Regions from separate parts of the Homo sapiens genome. Here regions 1 and 2 are each linked to region 3. Evidence: promoter capture Hi-C in 16 types of primary human blood cells and fetal thymus (Javierre and others, 2016). All regions are on one chromosome and are shown on one strand. Each heading gives the region's core, a stretch centred on a gene start or on the middle of the fragment in contact. The rest is flanking DNA. Distances are from core to core; before and after follow the strand shown. Region 1 has its middle 3.0 kb from the start of ZNF813. Region 2 overlaps ZNF677 (zinc finger protein 677). Region 3 holds the start of ZNF649 (zinc finger protein 649).

Region 1 (4,635 bases), core at 1,457-3,956, 1.6 Mb before region 3:
TTTTGATTGTGTGAGATAGGGATCCAACAGTATTCTTTTCCATCTGGATATTCAGTTAGTTGTCTCAGCACGTTTGTGGAAGAGATTTATTACTTTATTTATTTACTTATTTCTTTTGAGACAGAGTATTTCTCTGTCGCCCAGGCTAGAGGGCAGTAACGGGATCTCGGTTCACTGCAGCCTCTTCCCTCTTGGGTTCAAGCGATTCCCCTGCCTCAGCCTCCGGAGTACCTGCCATTACATTCGCGTGCCACCATGCCTGGCTAATTTTTGTATTTTTGTAGACGGGTTTCACCATGTTGGCCAGGCTGGTCTCAAACTCTTGACTTCAAGTGATCCGCCTGCCTCGGCCTCCCAAAGTGCTGGCATTACAGGCGTGAGCCACTGCACCTGGCCCAACAAATACTTTTTACTTCACTTTCCAATTGTTGAGAAAACATAATTGAAAACAAACAAAAAGTCTTCCCCCCAATGAGAAATCATCTCCACGACGACAATAGAGAAAGAAATTAAAACCATTTCATTAATAAATAAGCCTTAGGCCAGATTATGATGCGAAATAGACAAACAGCTAAGAGGTTGAAAAGAGAGAAAGAAACTTCACTGTTCTATACAACCCATTAAGTACATGTTTTCAAGATAAACACTAATCAGTCCTCAGGGAAGAGGACTTGACAACACCCTTGGTCACACATAGTTCATCCTGGCTCTACTTGGTAATGGAGGTAACCATCTGTGTCAGCTAAGTAGCTTCATGCCGAGGAGGGGAAGAAACCCTAACCCATGTTTTTTTGACAAGTGTGAGTTTTACAACATGGCGACAGGTGCCCTCTGTAGTGAGGCTCCTAAAATCCGACAGAAACTGATGTCAGCAGTAAATAATAAAATTTAGAATTTATGATTAAATATAGAGTTTATCTGAACACAAAGCATGAGGATAGCCACTGGCAAACATCAACTCCAAATGAATGGGATCAGCGTTCCATAGTAGAGACGTTTAGGTTTCACACACAGGGAAAGACAGAAGCTTTAGGACAATCACATTTTCCATTCAAGACCAGTGCATAGGTTGCAGCAAGTTGATTGGTGACAGAGTGATACACTTCAAGGAAGGTTACTTTATCACTCCATAAAAAGGGACAATGATCTCAGGAGGTCTTATCTCTGGGGTTGCTTAGTCTTTCTAATTATTTACATGAAAACTTTTCCTGTAAATAAGAGGAAGACTTGCATAGGCTGGAGTGCAGTGGGGCGACCTCGGCTCACTGCAACCTCTACCTCTCAGATTCAAGCAGTTCTCTTGCCTCAGCCTCCCAAGTAGCTGGGATTACAGGTGCATGCCACCATTGTTTTTTTTTGTTTGAGACAGAGTCTCGCTCTGTTGCCTAAGCTGGAGAGCAATGACACGATCTCAGCTGCTTACTGCAACCTCTGCCTCCCGGGTTCAAGCGATTCTCCTGGCTCAGGCTCTCGAGTAGCTAGGAGCCCAGCTAACTTTTGTATTTTTAGTAGAGATGGGGTTTCACCATGTAGGGCAGGCTGGTCTCAAACTCCTGACCTTGTGATCCACCCGCCCAAGCCTTCCAATTTTCTGGGATTACAGGTGTGAGCCACCACGCCTGGCCTTTTGTTTTGTATTTTTAGTAGAGAGGTGGTTTCACCATGTTGGCCATGCTAGTTTCAAACTCTTGACCTCAAGTGATCTGTCCACCTCGACCTCCCAAAGTGGTGAGATTACAGGTGTGGGCCACCACACGTGGCAAGGAAAACTCGTAGAAGTTACGCCTGCATTCCACTGGACTCAAGCTGAATGAGCACATTTCTCTCAAGGTGTAGCAGGACGAGCCACAGACAAAAGCCCTCACACACAGGGTTAAAGAAGGAAGTTGCTTTATTTGGCCGGGAGCATCGGCTGACTGGCATCTCAAGAACCGAGCTCCCCCAAGAAGGAGTTCCTGGTCCTTTTAAGGGCTTACAACTGTAAGGGGTTCCACGTGAAAGGGTCATGATAGATTGAGAGCACATGTGGTTAGAGTTGGGGGTTAATATTTTAACCTCAGGCCTGGTCATCAGTGGCACCAGCTGGTCTTGCCACTGACTTCATTCCTGTTGTTTTTCAGCTTTTACTTCAGAGACAGGAGACAGTAAGAGAAATGGCCTCTCTCTTCAAAGGCTCATAATTATTTAAAGGTCATAGCTTTAAATTGGAATTATTTGATGTATGAATTATTTAATTTCCTACTGAGATACAGGTACTGTCTCCCTTGTATTTTGCCTTTCAAAGAGAGCTCCCAAGTCCTTCAGAAATACATCCCTGGGTCATCAAGCTGAAAAAAGGTTTAGTTAGTTTCTAAAAAATACCACTTCAGACCAGGTGTGGTGGTTCACACCTGTAATCCCAGCACTTTCAGAGGCCAAGATGGCGAATCACTTGAGGTCAGGAGTTCGAAACCGGGCTTGTACCCGGAAGTTGAAGGCTGCGGTGAACTGGGATCGTGCAATTGCACTCTAGCCTAAGCAACAAAAGCAAAACTCCATCTAAAAAACAAACAACAAAAACAAAACAACAAAAAACCTCAGAAGACAGACAAAATCCATTTACAAATTTTCTAAATAAGTCTCCTAAGAAAAGAGACGAAAGGAAAGTAAATCTCTTTATTTTCACAGGAGGAATTACACCTCTCATTTATTTGCTTGTTTGTTTGAGACAGGGTCTAGCTCTGACACCCAGGCTAGAGTGTGGTGGTGAGATCAGGGCTCACTGCAGCCTCCAACTCCCTGGCTCAAGCGATCCTCCCACCTCAGCGCTCCAGCAGCTGGGACCACAGGCGCGCACCACCACACTTGGCTGATTTTTTTATATTTTTATTAGAGACGACGTCTCATCATGTTGCCCAGGCTGATCTCAAACTCCTGGGCTCAAGCGATCCTCTCACTTCGGCCACTCAAAGTGCTGGGATTACAAGTGTGAACCACCGCTCCGGGCCCTGACTTTATTTCCATGAAATATGAAATTGTCCTTCACCTCCTGTGTATAATAGGCAGTTCTGCTTGTCACCCTTCAGTTTCCATTATCCACTCAAACAACCCAACCCAGGACCTTGCTTAGTTTAATAAGCCGTTCTAATTGTCTGTGCCCGCTGCAACCAGCGCCCCACTCCACCCCTTTACCGAGGTCCCTGACCCTCTCCACCGCCCTGCCCCAGACTGAGGGGAGCTTGCCCCGCCTGCAGGACGCGCGACTCTACCTTCTCCAAAAAAGCTCTTTGCATTGAAACTATTTTCAACTTAAGAGGAAAAACGATTCAACGTTCAGTACAGGTGGCCCACTACAATATGTTGTTTTACCTTCGATTGTTCGAAATAGTAACTTCAACGGGCAGGAAGCATCCCTGTGATATTAGGGGTAATATCATGGCACATCAGAAACAATCCACCAATCAGAACCCGGAGGACCCAGTCCTGGAGGGCAAGAGGATGAGAGCAGGCGACATCCACGGCCCAGCTGAGAAAAGAATCCGGACCCGCCCCCTCCAGGCCCCGCCCTTCAGAACAAAAAACCCCTTCCAGACCCCACCCCCAAGATGACGCTAACCCTCGGGTCCCGCCTTTTCCTGCTGTCCAGCCCGGCCCCCAGGCAGCCTCCTCCCTCTTGCCCCGCCCACTCCCATTCCAGGCCCCACCCCCACCCTCTAACCAGGCCCGGTTTCCAAAGCTGCCTCCACCCTCTCTCCCCGACCCAGCACCTGTTCTGGCCCGGCCCCCTCGGCGACCTTTACCCCTCCCGTTCCGTCCCCGCTCTCTGTCCAGAACCCGCCCAGAAGGAATCTGGGTGCTTCGGGATGTTGAAATCCCCACGCGAGTTTGTGCAGTTGTCAGGGAGTCCCGGCTTCCCCATGGGAAGCTCGCAGGCCCAGTGGCTCTGCAGCTTTTGTATCGTTTTAGACCGTGTCCTCCGCCTTTCAATACCCTATTGCCCTTTCCAATAATCCCAGTTGGCGGCTGCTGAGCGCCTCACCCTTCATCCACCCATGTTTCCCAGCTGTCAGCCCCTTTGTTCTCGTGAGCGCTGACTCCACAGTGTGGATCTTTGCTTGGCATGCTGGATGAGGACTACCAAATTCCTGCTTTTGTGAGAATTGGATTAATTGTCTGTTTTTGTATAACGTTCAGTCGTTTTGTTGCCTAAAATGGTGTCACAGTCCACACCCCATGTGAGAGTTCTTGGATCTTGCGCAGTAAAAAATTCAAGGCGAGGGTCCGAGTGTAGTGAGGCGAGAGAGTTTATTGAAAGCTACCAGTTACGCAGTAGGGCGTCCTCAGAAAGCAGGGGGAACGCCTCCTCCTGAAGTTTTTCTTACATAGAGGCCTACGTAAAAGCTTTTTTTTTTTTTTTTTTTTTTTGAGATGGAGTCTCGCTCTGTTGCCCAGGCTGGAGTGCAGTGGCGCGATCTGGGCTCACTGCAAGCTCCGCCTCCCGGGTTCACGCCATTCTCCTGCCTCTGCCTCCCAAGTAGCTGGGACTACAGGCGCCCGCCACTACGCCCGGCTAATTTTTTGTATTTTTAGTAGAGACGGGGTTTCATCGTGTTAGCCAGGATTGTCTCGATCTCCTGACCTCGTGATCCACCTGCC
Region 2 (4,823 bases), core at 914-3,413, 1.3 Mb before region 3:
GCAATTTTATGTTCACAGCAAACTAGATTTCCTGTATACTCTGTTCCCCCACACGTGCACAGCGTCTTCCCCCATTATCACCATCCCCCATCACAGTGGTACATTTGTTAAAATTGATAAACCTACATTGACACATCATTATCACCCAAAGTCCATAGTCGATGTTGGGGTTCACTCTATGTATATGCTTTGGGTTTGGGCAAATATATAATAGACATATATCCTCCATAATAGTATCTTACAGAATAATTACACTGCCCTAAAAAATCTGTGCTCTGTCTGTTCATCTCTCCCTCCCCCCAGCACCTGGCAACCACTGATCTCTTTACTGTCTCCATAGATTTGCCTTTTTCAGAATGTCATATAGTTGGAACCATATAGTATATGGCCTTTTCAGATTGGCTTCTTTCACTTAATAATATGCATTTCAATTTCTAGGGCTGGGCGTGGTGGCTCACGCCTGTAATCCCAGCACTTTGGGAGGCCGAGGCCGGCGGATCACGAGGTCAGGAGATCAAGACGATCCTGGCTAACATGGTGAAACCCCGTCTCTACTAAAAATACAGAAAATAAGCCGGGCGTGGTGGCGGGCACCTGTAGTTCCAGCTACTCAGGAGGCTGAGGCAGGAGAATGGCGTGAACCTGGGAGGCAGAGGTTGTGATGAGCCGAGACCATGCCACTGCACTCCAGCCTGGGCAACAGAGCGAGACTCCATCTCAAAAAATAGATAAATAAAATAAATTTCTTCCATGTCTTTTTATAGCTTGACAGCTCATTTCTTTTTAGCACAGAATAACATCCCTTCATTGCACACACTGTGTAAAGAATGACTCCTGCTTATACACAGGACAGCTTACTCAGGACAGCAACATGATCTGGTCACTGTCTAAACAACTTGTGCAAGATAAGGTGACTTAAATGCTATCTGAGAGCAGTGGTGCTGTCACACTATAGGTGACACAGCTCAGGTCCCATAATCTGCCTTGAAACATTTCTTCCTACACTCCTCGTATTTGCTGTGATTTATAATCCGTGCTGCCCTGGGTGGCCAGTGGTGCTTAATGCTGTGAACATGGCATCTTAGCCCGCACACACAGGTTCAGATTCTGGCTTTCAGATGTGCTTTCTCTGTGAGTTAGGGATAGATATGTAAACCTCTTCAGCCCTTTGTTTTGGTATGAAAAGGTGCGATAATTTACCTCAAGAGGATTTACATCAATTAGTGCTGTTAGAGACCTTAGTAACTTGCATAGCATTTAGTATGCTTTGAAAAGTTACCTTTATGAATAAGATATGTCAAGTGTCTGTCATGTTTCTTATGAGATTGACCTTTGCCTTCATTATATCTTACATATTTTCTTTTTTGTAATTTTTTTTTTCATATCAACATTTCTCTGACTCTACATAATAAAATGTTAAAGCACACAGCTTTCATTATATGTATTTTTTGGCCATAGAACTGGAAAACTAGATGACATTTCCTAGTCAGGGAGTTTCTCTATATACTGCTGTCATATAACTGCAGGCATGAAATTATTTCAGACTCCCCTCCTAATTCTTCATCTTTATAGTAATGTGCATTTACCTGAAGCTGATATTTCAAAATTTAGTGATTCTCAACATATTATTTTTCCTATTGTGTGTCCCTTCTGTTTTTTCTGTAGTTCATAAGCAGTAATTCTTTAGAATTTCACTGACAATTTTGTGTAATTGTGGTTGTTCATTAACTTGCCTGTTAGATTTTCACAGGTTACTAAAGTGTTTTATTTATTTTTGTAATGATTTACAGATGATGGTTTTTCAGTATATATTATGCAATAGAACCACCATGCACAAATTGTTAATGCTGCAAAATGCACATTCTACATGGGTGTAAGTAGTTTTATAACAAGTACTCACATTTGCAATTTGTAAATATTCAAAATTTTATTAAATTCTTCCGAATTTTTTCTTTCAGTGTTTTGTTTGCAATTATGAATTGTCATTTTTAAATATTTTTTATTAGATAAGCTTGAGCTGTGCCTTACCTTTTGTGTGTAATAATTATGTACTAAATAATGCATTACTATTTGTTTATCTTCAAATATGAGACTACCATATAGCTATGCCAATTTACGTGTTCCTTGGAGTGGTGGTGGAAAAATACCTCTTCTTTCAGAGTTTATGTGGATTTACATAGTATGAGTGTTTTAGCTATAGGGTGTTTTAAACTGTGCTTAAAATAATTTGTTACATGTTTTGTTACTGTGTTACTTTATTGAGGACAGCTAGTCCCTTTGTGTTGTTAAACGTTTAAAGACAGTTGAGAAGCTTCATAACTCTGTTCATTGTAAATCTTAGCTTTCTTGTAATATGTATTTTAATAAAATATTTACCTTGCAACTCTATTTGATGGAAAGCCTGTGGTTTTTTTAATATCTTTCAGATATTTCTGTTGGATTTACAAGCAAGGGATTATCACCAAAGGAAAATAATAAAGAGGAATTATACCATCTGGTGATATTAGAAAGAAAGGAAAGCCATGGCATCAACAATTTTGACCTCAAGGAAGTCTGGGAAAATATGCCTAAGTTTGACAGCCTGTGGGACTATGATGTAAAAAATTACAAAGGAATGCCTTTGACCTGTAACAAAAATCTCACTCACAGAAAAGATCAACAACATAATAAATCCTCAATACATTTCTCTTTAAAGCAGAGTGTTTCTATAAGAGATAGTGCACACCAGTATTTCATCCATGACAAGCCATTTATAAGGAATTTGTTAAAACTGAAAAATAACATAAGGTATGCCGGAAACAAATACGTGAAGTGTTTTGAAAATAAAATTGGATTAAGCTTACAGGCACAGCTGGCTGAACTACAGAGATTTCAAACTGGGGAGAAAATGTATGAATGTAATCCAGTTGAGAAGTCTATCAATAGTTCCTCAGTTTCACCACTTCCTCCTTGTGTCAAAAACATTTGTAATAAATATAGGAAGATTTTGAAATACCCTTTATTACATACACAGTATGGGAGAACACACATTAGAGAAAAATCATACAAGTGTAATGACTGTGGAAAGGCTTTTAGCAAAAGTTCGAACCTCACTAATCATCAGAGAATTCACTCTGGACAGAGACCTTACAAATGTAACGAGTGTGGCAAAGCCTTTAACCAGTGTTCGAACCTCACTAGGCATCAGAGAGTCCATACAGGAGAGAAACCATATCAATGTAATATATGTGGCAAGGTCTGTAGTCAAAATTCAAATCTTGCAAGTCATCAGAGGATGCATACTGGAGAGAAACCTTACAAATGTAATGAATGTGGTAAGGCATTTATCCAGCGTTCACACCTTTGGGGTCATGAAAGAATTCATACTGGAGAGAAACCTTACAAATGTAATGAATGTGACAAAGCCTTTGCTGAACGTTCAAGCCTTACCCAACATAAGAGAATCCATACTGGAGAGAAGCCTTACATATGTAATGAGTGTGGCAAAGCTTTTAAGCAGTGCTCACATCTCACTAGGCATCAGAATATACATCCTGGAGAGAAACCACACAAATGTAATGTGTGTGGCAGGGCTTTTATCCAAAGTTCAAGTCTTGTGGAACATCAGAGAATTCACACTGGAGAAAAACCTTACAAATGTAATAAATGTGATAAAGCTTTTATCAAACGTTCACACCTTTGGGGTCATCAGAGAACTCATACTGGAGAGAAACCTTACAAATGTACTGAATGTGGCAAAGCCTTTACTGAACGTTCAAATCTTACTCAGCATAAGAAAATCCATACTGGAGAGAAACCTTACAAATGTACTGAATGTGGCAAAGCTTTTACCCAATTTGCAAACCTCACTAGACACCAGAAAATACACATTGAAAAGAAACATTGTAAACATAATATACATGGTAATGCTTTATTCCAAAGTTCAAACCTTGGAGATCATCAAAAAAGTTATAATAGAGAAAAACATATCAAATATAATGAGACAAAAATTAAGTATTCAAGCTGTACCTAGCATCAGGGGCTCCATTGTGAAAAGAAACCATATAAAACGAAAATGTGGTAAAGCCTTTAGCTATGGCTTATGTCTCACTTGATACCAGAATATACATCTTTGAGATAAACCACACAAAGATAACATGTATGGCAAGGCTTATCCAAAGTTCAAGCCTTGTGGAACATCATAGAATTCTTACTGTAGAGAAGCCTTACAAATATAATGAATGTGAACAGCTTTATAAAAATATTTACCCTATTATGGTTATAACAGAAGACATTCAGGATGGAAACCATACAAATGTGGCAAGTCCTTTAAGCAATGTTCTGACTTCAGGATACACCATTCATATTGGAGAGAAGCATTACAAGTGAAGGTGGTAAATTATTTTAAATTTCTCAATGGAAATTCATCCTTATATGCAAGCATTTTGTCATACAAAAATTCAGGCTAGAGGGAACTAAGTCTTTTTTCCTTCTTGAAGATTAAGTGATTGATGTTAAATTCACAGACAATTTTAAAAAGTCACAAACTCATGGTGTGTGTCAGAGGAGCAAGGACATCTGTGGAAAGATGTAACTTCAGTGTTAAAAATTTTTTATTCAGTTATTTCATATTTTTAAAAGTATGAAATCTGTTGCTGTTAAATCTTCATGGCATGCTTTTCATTTATCATGATTGTCTCAAGGAATGGATGTAAGATGGAAGGGACTACTTCCTTAGGTGTGGCTTCTTTATATTACTGAAACCTGGAAAAAGCAAGAACACTAATTTTTTCTTTTTTTGGAGACAGAGTCTTGCTCTGTCACCCAGGCTGGAGTGCAGTGGC
Region 3 (4,483 bases), core at 450-2,949:
CCGCAACAGCCTTGGTTGCATTTGAGCCTCTGAATATCTGTGTGGTTTGTGCAGTGAAGGGGTGGCCTGCCTCTCCACATCTGTGGGTGTTTCTCGTCAGGTGGGACGAGAGACTGAGAAAAGAAGAGATACAGAGACAAAGTATAGAGAAAGAAAAGTGGGTCCAGGGGACCGGTGCTCAGCATACAGAGGACCCGCGCCGGCACCGGTCTCTGAGTCCCTCAGTATTTATTGATCATTATCTCTACCATCTCGGAGAGGGGGATGTGGCAGGACAATAGGATAATAGTGGGGAGAGTGTCAGCAGGAAAACATGTGAACAAATGTCTCTGTGTCATAAACAAGCTTAAGAAGAAGGTGCTGTGCTTTGATATGCACATACATAAACGTCTCGGTGCATTAAAGAGCAGTATTGCCGCCAGCTTGTCTCACCTCCAGCCCTAAGGCGATTTTCTCCTATCTCAGTAGATGGAACATACAATCGGGTTTTATACCGAGACATTCCATTGCCCAGGGACGAGCAGGAGACAGATGCCTTCCTCTTGTCTCAACTGCAAGAGGCCTTCCTTCCTCTTATACTAATCCTCCTCAGCACAGACCCTTTACGGGTGTCGGGCTGAGGGATGGTCAGGTCTTTCCCTTCCCACGAGGCCATATTTCAGACTATCACATGGGGAGAAACCTTGGATAATACCTGGCTTTCTGGGGCAGAGGTCCCTGTGGCCTTCCGCAGTGTATTGTGTCCCTGGGTACTTGAGATTAGAGAGTGGTGATGACTTTTAACAAGCATACTGCCTTCAAGCATTTGTTTAACAAAGCACATCCTGCATAGCCCTAAATCCATTAAACCTTGAGTCAACACAGCACACGTCTCTGTGAGAACAGGGTTGGGGGTAGGGTTACAGATTAACAGCATCTCAAGGCAGAAGAATTTTTCTTAGTACGGAACAAAATGGAGTCTCTTATGTCTACTTCTTTCTACATAGACACAGTAACAGTCTGATCTCTCTTTCTTTTCCCCACAGTGCACTGTTGTTAGTGCTCCAACCTCACAGTGCAGGGGTTGAGGTGTCAGGAGAGGGAACACATCAGTGCCATTTCACTGTCTCCTGTGTCAAAGCAAAATTAAAATGCAGACCAGAATTCAAAAACTCCTGAGCAAACAAAACCCAGTAGGCCTTAAAAACAGCCTTAACCTTGCTTAACCTGCAAACATAAGCAACAATTCACTTGAGTCATTTCTGGTAAATGCTTGTGTTAGGGAAGGACAAAACTCAATCTCAACCGATCAAAAGTAGGCAACTCACATGCTATTATGTCATTAGGGACTTTCCAAGGCAAATTTAAAAAAATGCATTTTTATAATTGTAACTAATCAAATAATTTCTTTGTTTTACTCCTTCACTCACCCTGTGAATACTTGTGTCTAATGCTTTAAGCATAGAAGCGCGAGACTTCTTTTGGTTTGATGCTTCCTAATTCATGAATTGCTGTTTGTTCAGATAAACTCTAGAAAATGCTCCTGCGCCTCAAATTTTTGCTTTCAGGAGAGTCATCCCGGTTTAATGACACAAGAACAACTGTTTCCCTTCTGTACGGCAGATCTACCAAGATGGCCGCGCCCAGAGAGCCGTGGCTCAGGGCGCGGACATGTTACCTCCTCGAAGAGAAGCCCATGTCCCATCGTCCTAGCGCGGCAGAATTGACTCGCGCCCTCGTCCGCCGCCATAGGCCAGTGCCGGGGTTTAAGGGCCAGGAAAGGAAGCATTCAGGGAATTTAGGTGTAGCCAGAAGAAAATCAGGTGAGTGTTTGGGTCTCTCCGTGGAGTAGGTTAAAGGGGTAGGGAGCTTCTGAGGAGCCTGTGGGGAGAGCTGGCGGCCTGGGCGGTGGAGCCTTTGGGTTGGGGTGCCTTTGCGGTCCGGCGTGGGAGAGTTCTTGTGGTCGGGCGTTAAAGGTCTGTCGAGTTCAGCGACTGAGACTCGGCGTCAGAGTTTGGGGTCTCTGAGGGTCACTCTGTTAGTAGGCCTCTGGATCACTGGATGGAGAACTCTAGGGGGACGCTGCCCAGCACGCCGGCTTTATCACCGACGCCATTATTATCACTCCAAATGCTGCAGTTTAAAGTCGGTGATGAAGCCGGGGTGCTGGGCAGCGTACGAGGGTGTGTGGTGTAGGTTTTGGGGTGAATCGGGGATGTGTGTTAAGTGTTTCGGGGAGGCCCAGGCATGTGGGGCTCAGAGGCTTGTAAAATCTGGTATTTTACAAGCCCAGGCCCCTGGCTGGGGTTGAGTTGTGAAACTATAACCGCCCACCCTTGCCGGCTGCCTAGACAGAGCCGACTTGTTAAGACAGGGAAATTGCAATGGAGAAAGAGCAATTCATGCAGAGCCGGCTGTGCGGGGAGACCGGAGTTTTATTATTACTCAAATCAGTGATAAAAGAAAAATTGAAGCCGAATTAAATTTACAGGAGTTTCCTTGAGCAATGAACGATTCGCGAATTGGGCAGCCCCCAGAATCACAGCAGATTAACAGAGACTCCAGGGGTGCCTCGTGGTCAGAACAAATTTATAGACAAAAAAGGTAAAGTGACATACAGGAATCGGAAGCGAGGTCCAGAAACAGTGAGATTGGTTACCATTCGGCGTTTGCCTTATTTGAACGCAGTTGGAACATTCAGCAGTCTATGAGTATGGCCGCTGGGACTGGCCACCACTCAGCTATTGTTACAGGTGCATACGATTAAGTTCGGTTTTCAATTTTGTCTGTTAAGCTAGGTTGCAGTTTATCCACAAGGACTCAAATATAGAAGTATGGAGTCGTTCTCAGGCAATATTTAGTTTGCTTAAGCATCAGTCTCCTTGAGCATTTGGGGATCAAAGTTTCCTCCTATCCCCCAGACGGAATCTAGCTCTGTTGTCCAGTCTGGAGTGCAGTGGTGCGATCTCAGCTCACTGCAACCTCCGCCTCCTGGGTTCTAGCGACTGTCCTGCCTCAGCCTCCCGAGTGGCTGGGATTACAGGCGCCCGCCACCACGCCCGGCTAATTTTTGTATTTTTAGTAGAGACAGGCTTTCACCACGTTGGCCAGGCTGGTCTTGAACTCCTGACCTCAGGTGATCTGCCCGCCTCGGCCTTCCAAAGTGCTGGGATTATAGGCATGAGCCATCGCGCCTAGCTATGATTGTTACGATTTATAAGAAATGTATAATCGATCTTTGTCCTGTTTCCTGGCACATGTCTCCCAAAAGCCTTGGAACCTCTTCAGTAAACAGTGCCTTTTTGTGTGGCATTGAGATGGCTGGTGACTGGGGGCTTCTGGCTGGCCTTAGGACGGGGGAGGCTGGTTGCCAGGGCAACTAACCATGTCATTTGAGGGTTGGAAATTTTAGCTCTGCCTGGCAACAGGGAAGTTGAAGGTTGAGTTGATCACCAGTGGTTAGTGTTTTAATCAAGTATGCCCACATAATGAAACCAGCGTAAAAACTCAAAAGGACTGGTGAACTTCTGGGGAACTTACAGATTCTTGAGCATGTGGAGGTGCCTGAGGGTGGTGAACTGAGTCTCTAATAAGCTTCCGTGGAGGGCATGGAAGTCCCACGCCCCTTGCTACAAACCTTGCTCTGTGCTATCCCTTCCATCTGCCTCTTCATCTGTATCCTTCGTAATATCCTTTATTCCTTTTCCCATTTGCCCTGAGAATACTCACCTTTGGTGCTTGCAGCTGGAGCATTTACCCCGAGATAACTTTGCCATGAACGATCTCACTTTTATTATTTTCACATCGCTCTAGTAGGTCGCCTTGGGAAACAAAAGACATCATTCTACTTATAGCATTCTGTTTTTAGTAGTGGTATTTCCATTTACAAAATGTAGTAGTTCTCGATCACTGAAAATGTCAAATCCTAGAAAACGTAGCATTCCTACATGTGATGTTAACATCATTCTCAAACAGTTCTTGGCTGAAGACTCACTGGATGGATCCGATTTTTACCAAATCGAGAATTCTGATGATTCCAAATCGAGAATTCTGATGATTCAGATGATTCTGATGTTAGTTCTGTTTAGAAATAACTCCTAGAACAGCTTTTATATTTTATTTTCACATTGAAAATCAGATTTACTGCAGCCTCAAAGAGCATGTTTATGTAAAATGAAATAAGCGCTGGCAGTGAGCTGCACTTCGTTTTTCTAGACAGGAAAAGAGTTGAAATAAACCAGTAAATGTTAAGTGCTTTCCTGAGTTCTGTGAGCCATCCAGCAAATTAATCGAACCTGAGGAGGAGGCCGTGTGAATCCTGATTTATAGCTGGTCCATCAGAGGTACAGGTGACAACCTGCTGCTTGCAACTTGCGTCTGAAGTTGGGGGCAGGCTTGAACTGAGCCCTTAATCTGTGGTGTCTGACACTATATCTAGATACACAGTCTCAGACTGAATTAAATTATAGGATGCTGTCTTAGCCTTGTTGGTGCTGCTATAACA

What was found. The method cuts DNA at HindIII sites, captures the fragments that hold promoters and counts their contacts. A CHiCAGO score of 5 or more calls a contact.
Region 1: a fragment that was not itself captured here is called in contact with the fragment with the promoter of ZNF649 in region 3 in 1 of 17 cell types (non-activated CD4 T cells); the score reaches 6.4 in non-activated CD4 T cells.
Region 2: a fragment that was not itself captured here is called in contact with the fragment with the promoter of ZNF649 in region 3 in 1 of 17 cell types (fetal thymus); the score reaches 5.1 in fetal thymus.

The regions. Positions count from the first base shown.
Region 1 is chr19:53,462,443-53,467,077 of GRCh38, reverse strand. It overlaps the pseudogene VN1R102P. Among named protein-coding and RNA genes, the nearest start is that of ZNF813, 3.0 kb to the left of the region's middle. The HindIII fragment of the contact is 3,353 bases long and covers 1,030-4,382 here.
Region 2 is chr19:53,236,161-53,240,983 of GRCh38, reverse strand. It overlaps ZNF677 (zinc finger protein 677), which reads left to right. Exons shown (of 5, transcript NM_182609.4): 5 at 2,427-4,823. The coding sequence ends at 4,012. Among named protein-coding and RNA genes, the nearest start is that of ZNF677, 16 kb to the left of the region's middle. The HindIII fragment of the contact is 300 bases long and covers 2,014-2,313 here.
Region 3 is chr19:51,902,233-51,906,715 of GRCh38, reverse strand. ZNF649 (zinc finger protein 649) reads left to right here and starts at 1,699. Exons shown (of 5, transcript NM_023074.4): 1 at 1,699-1,802. RefSeq lists enhancers at 433-1,057, 1,548-1,667, 1,386-1,930, 3,021-3,566. The HindIII fragment of the contact is 3,228 bases long and covers 348-3,575 here.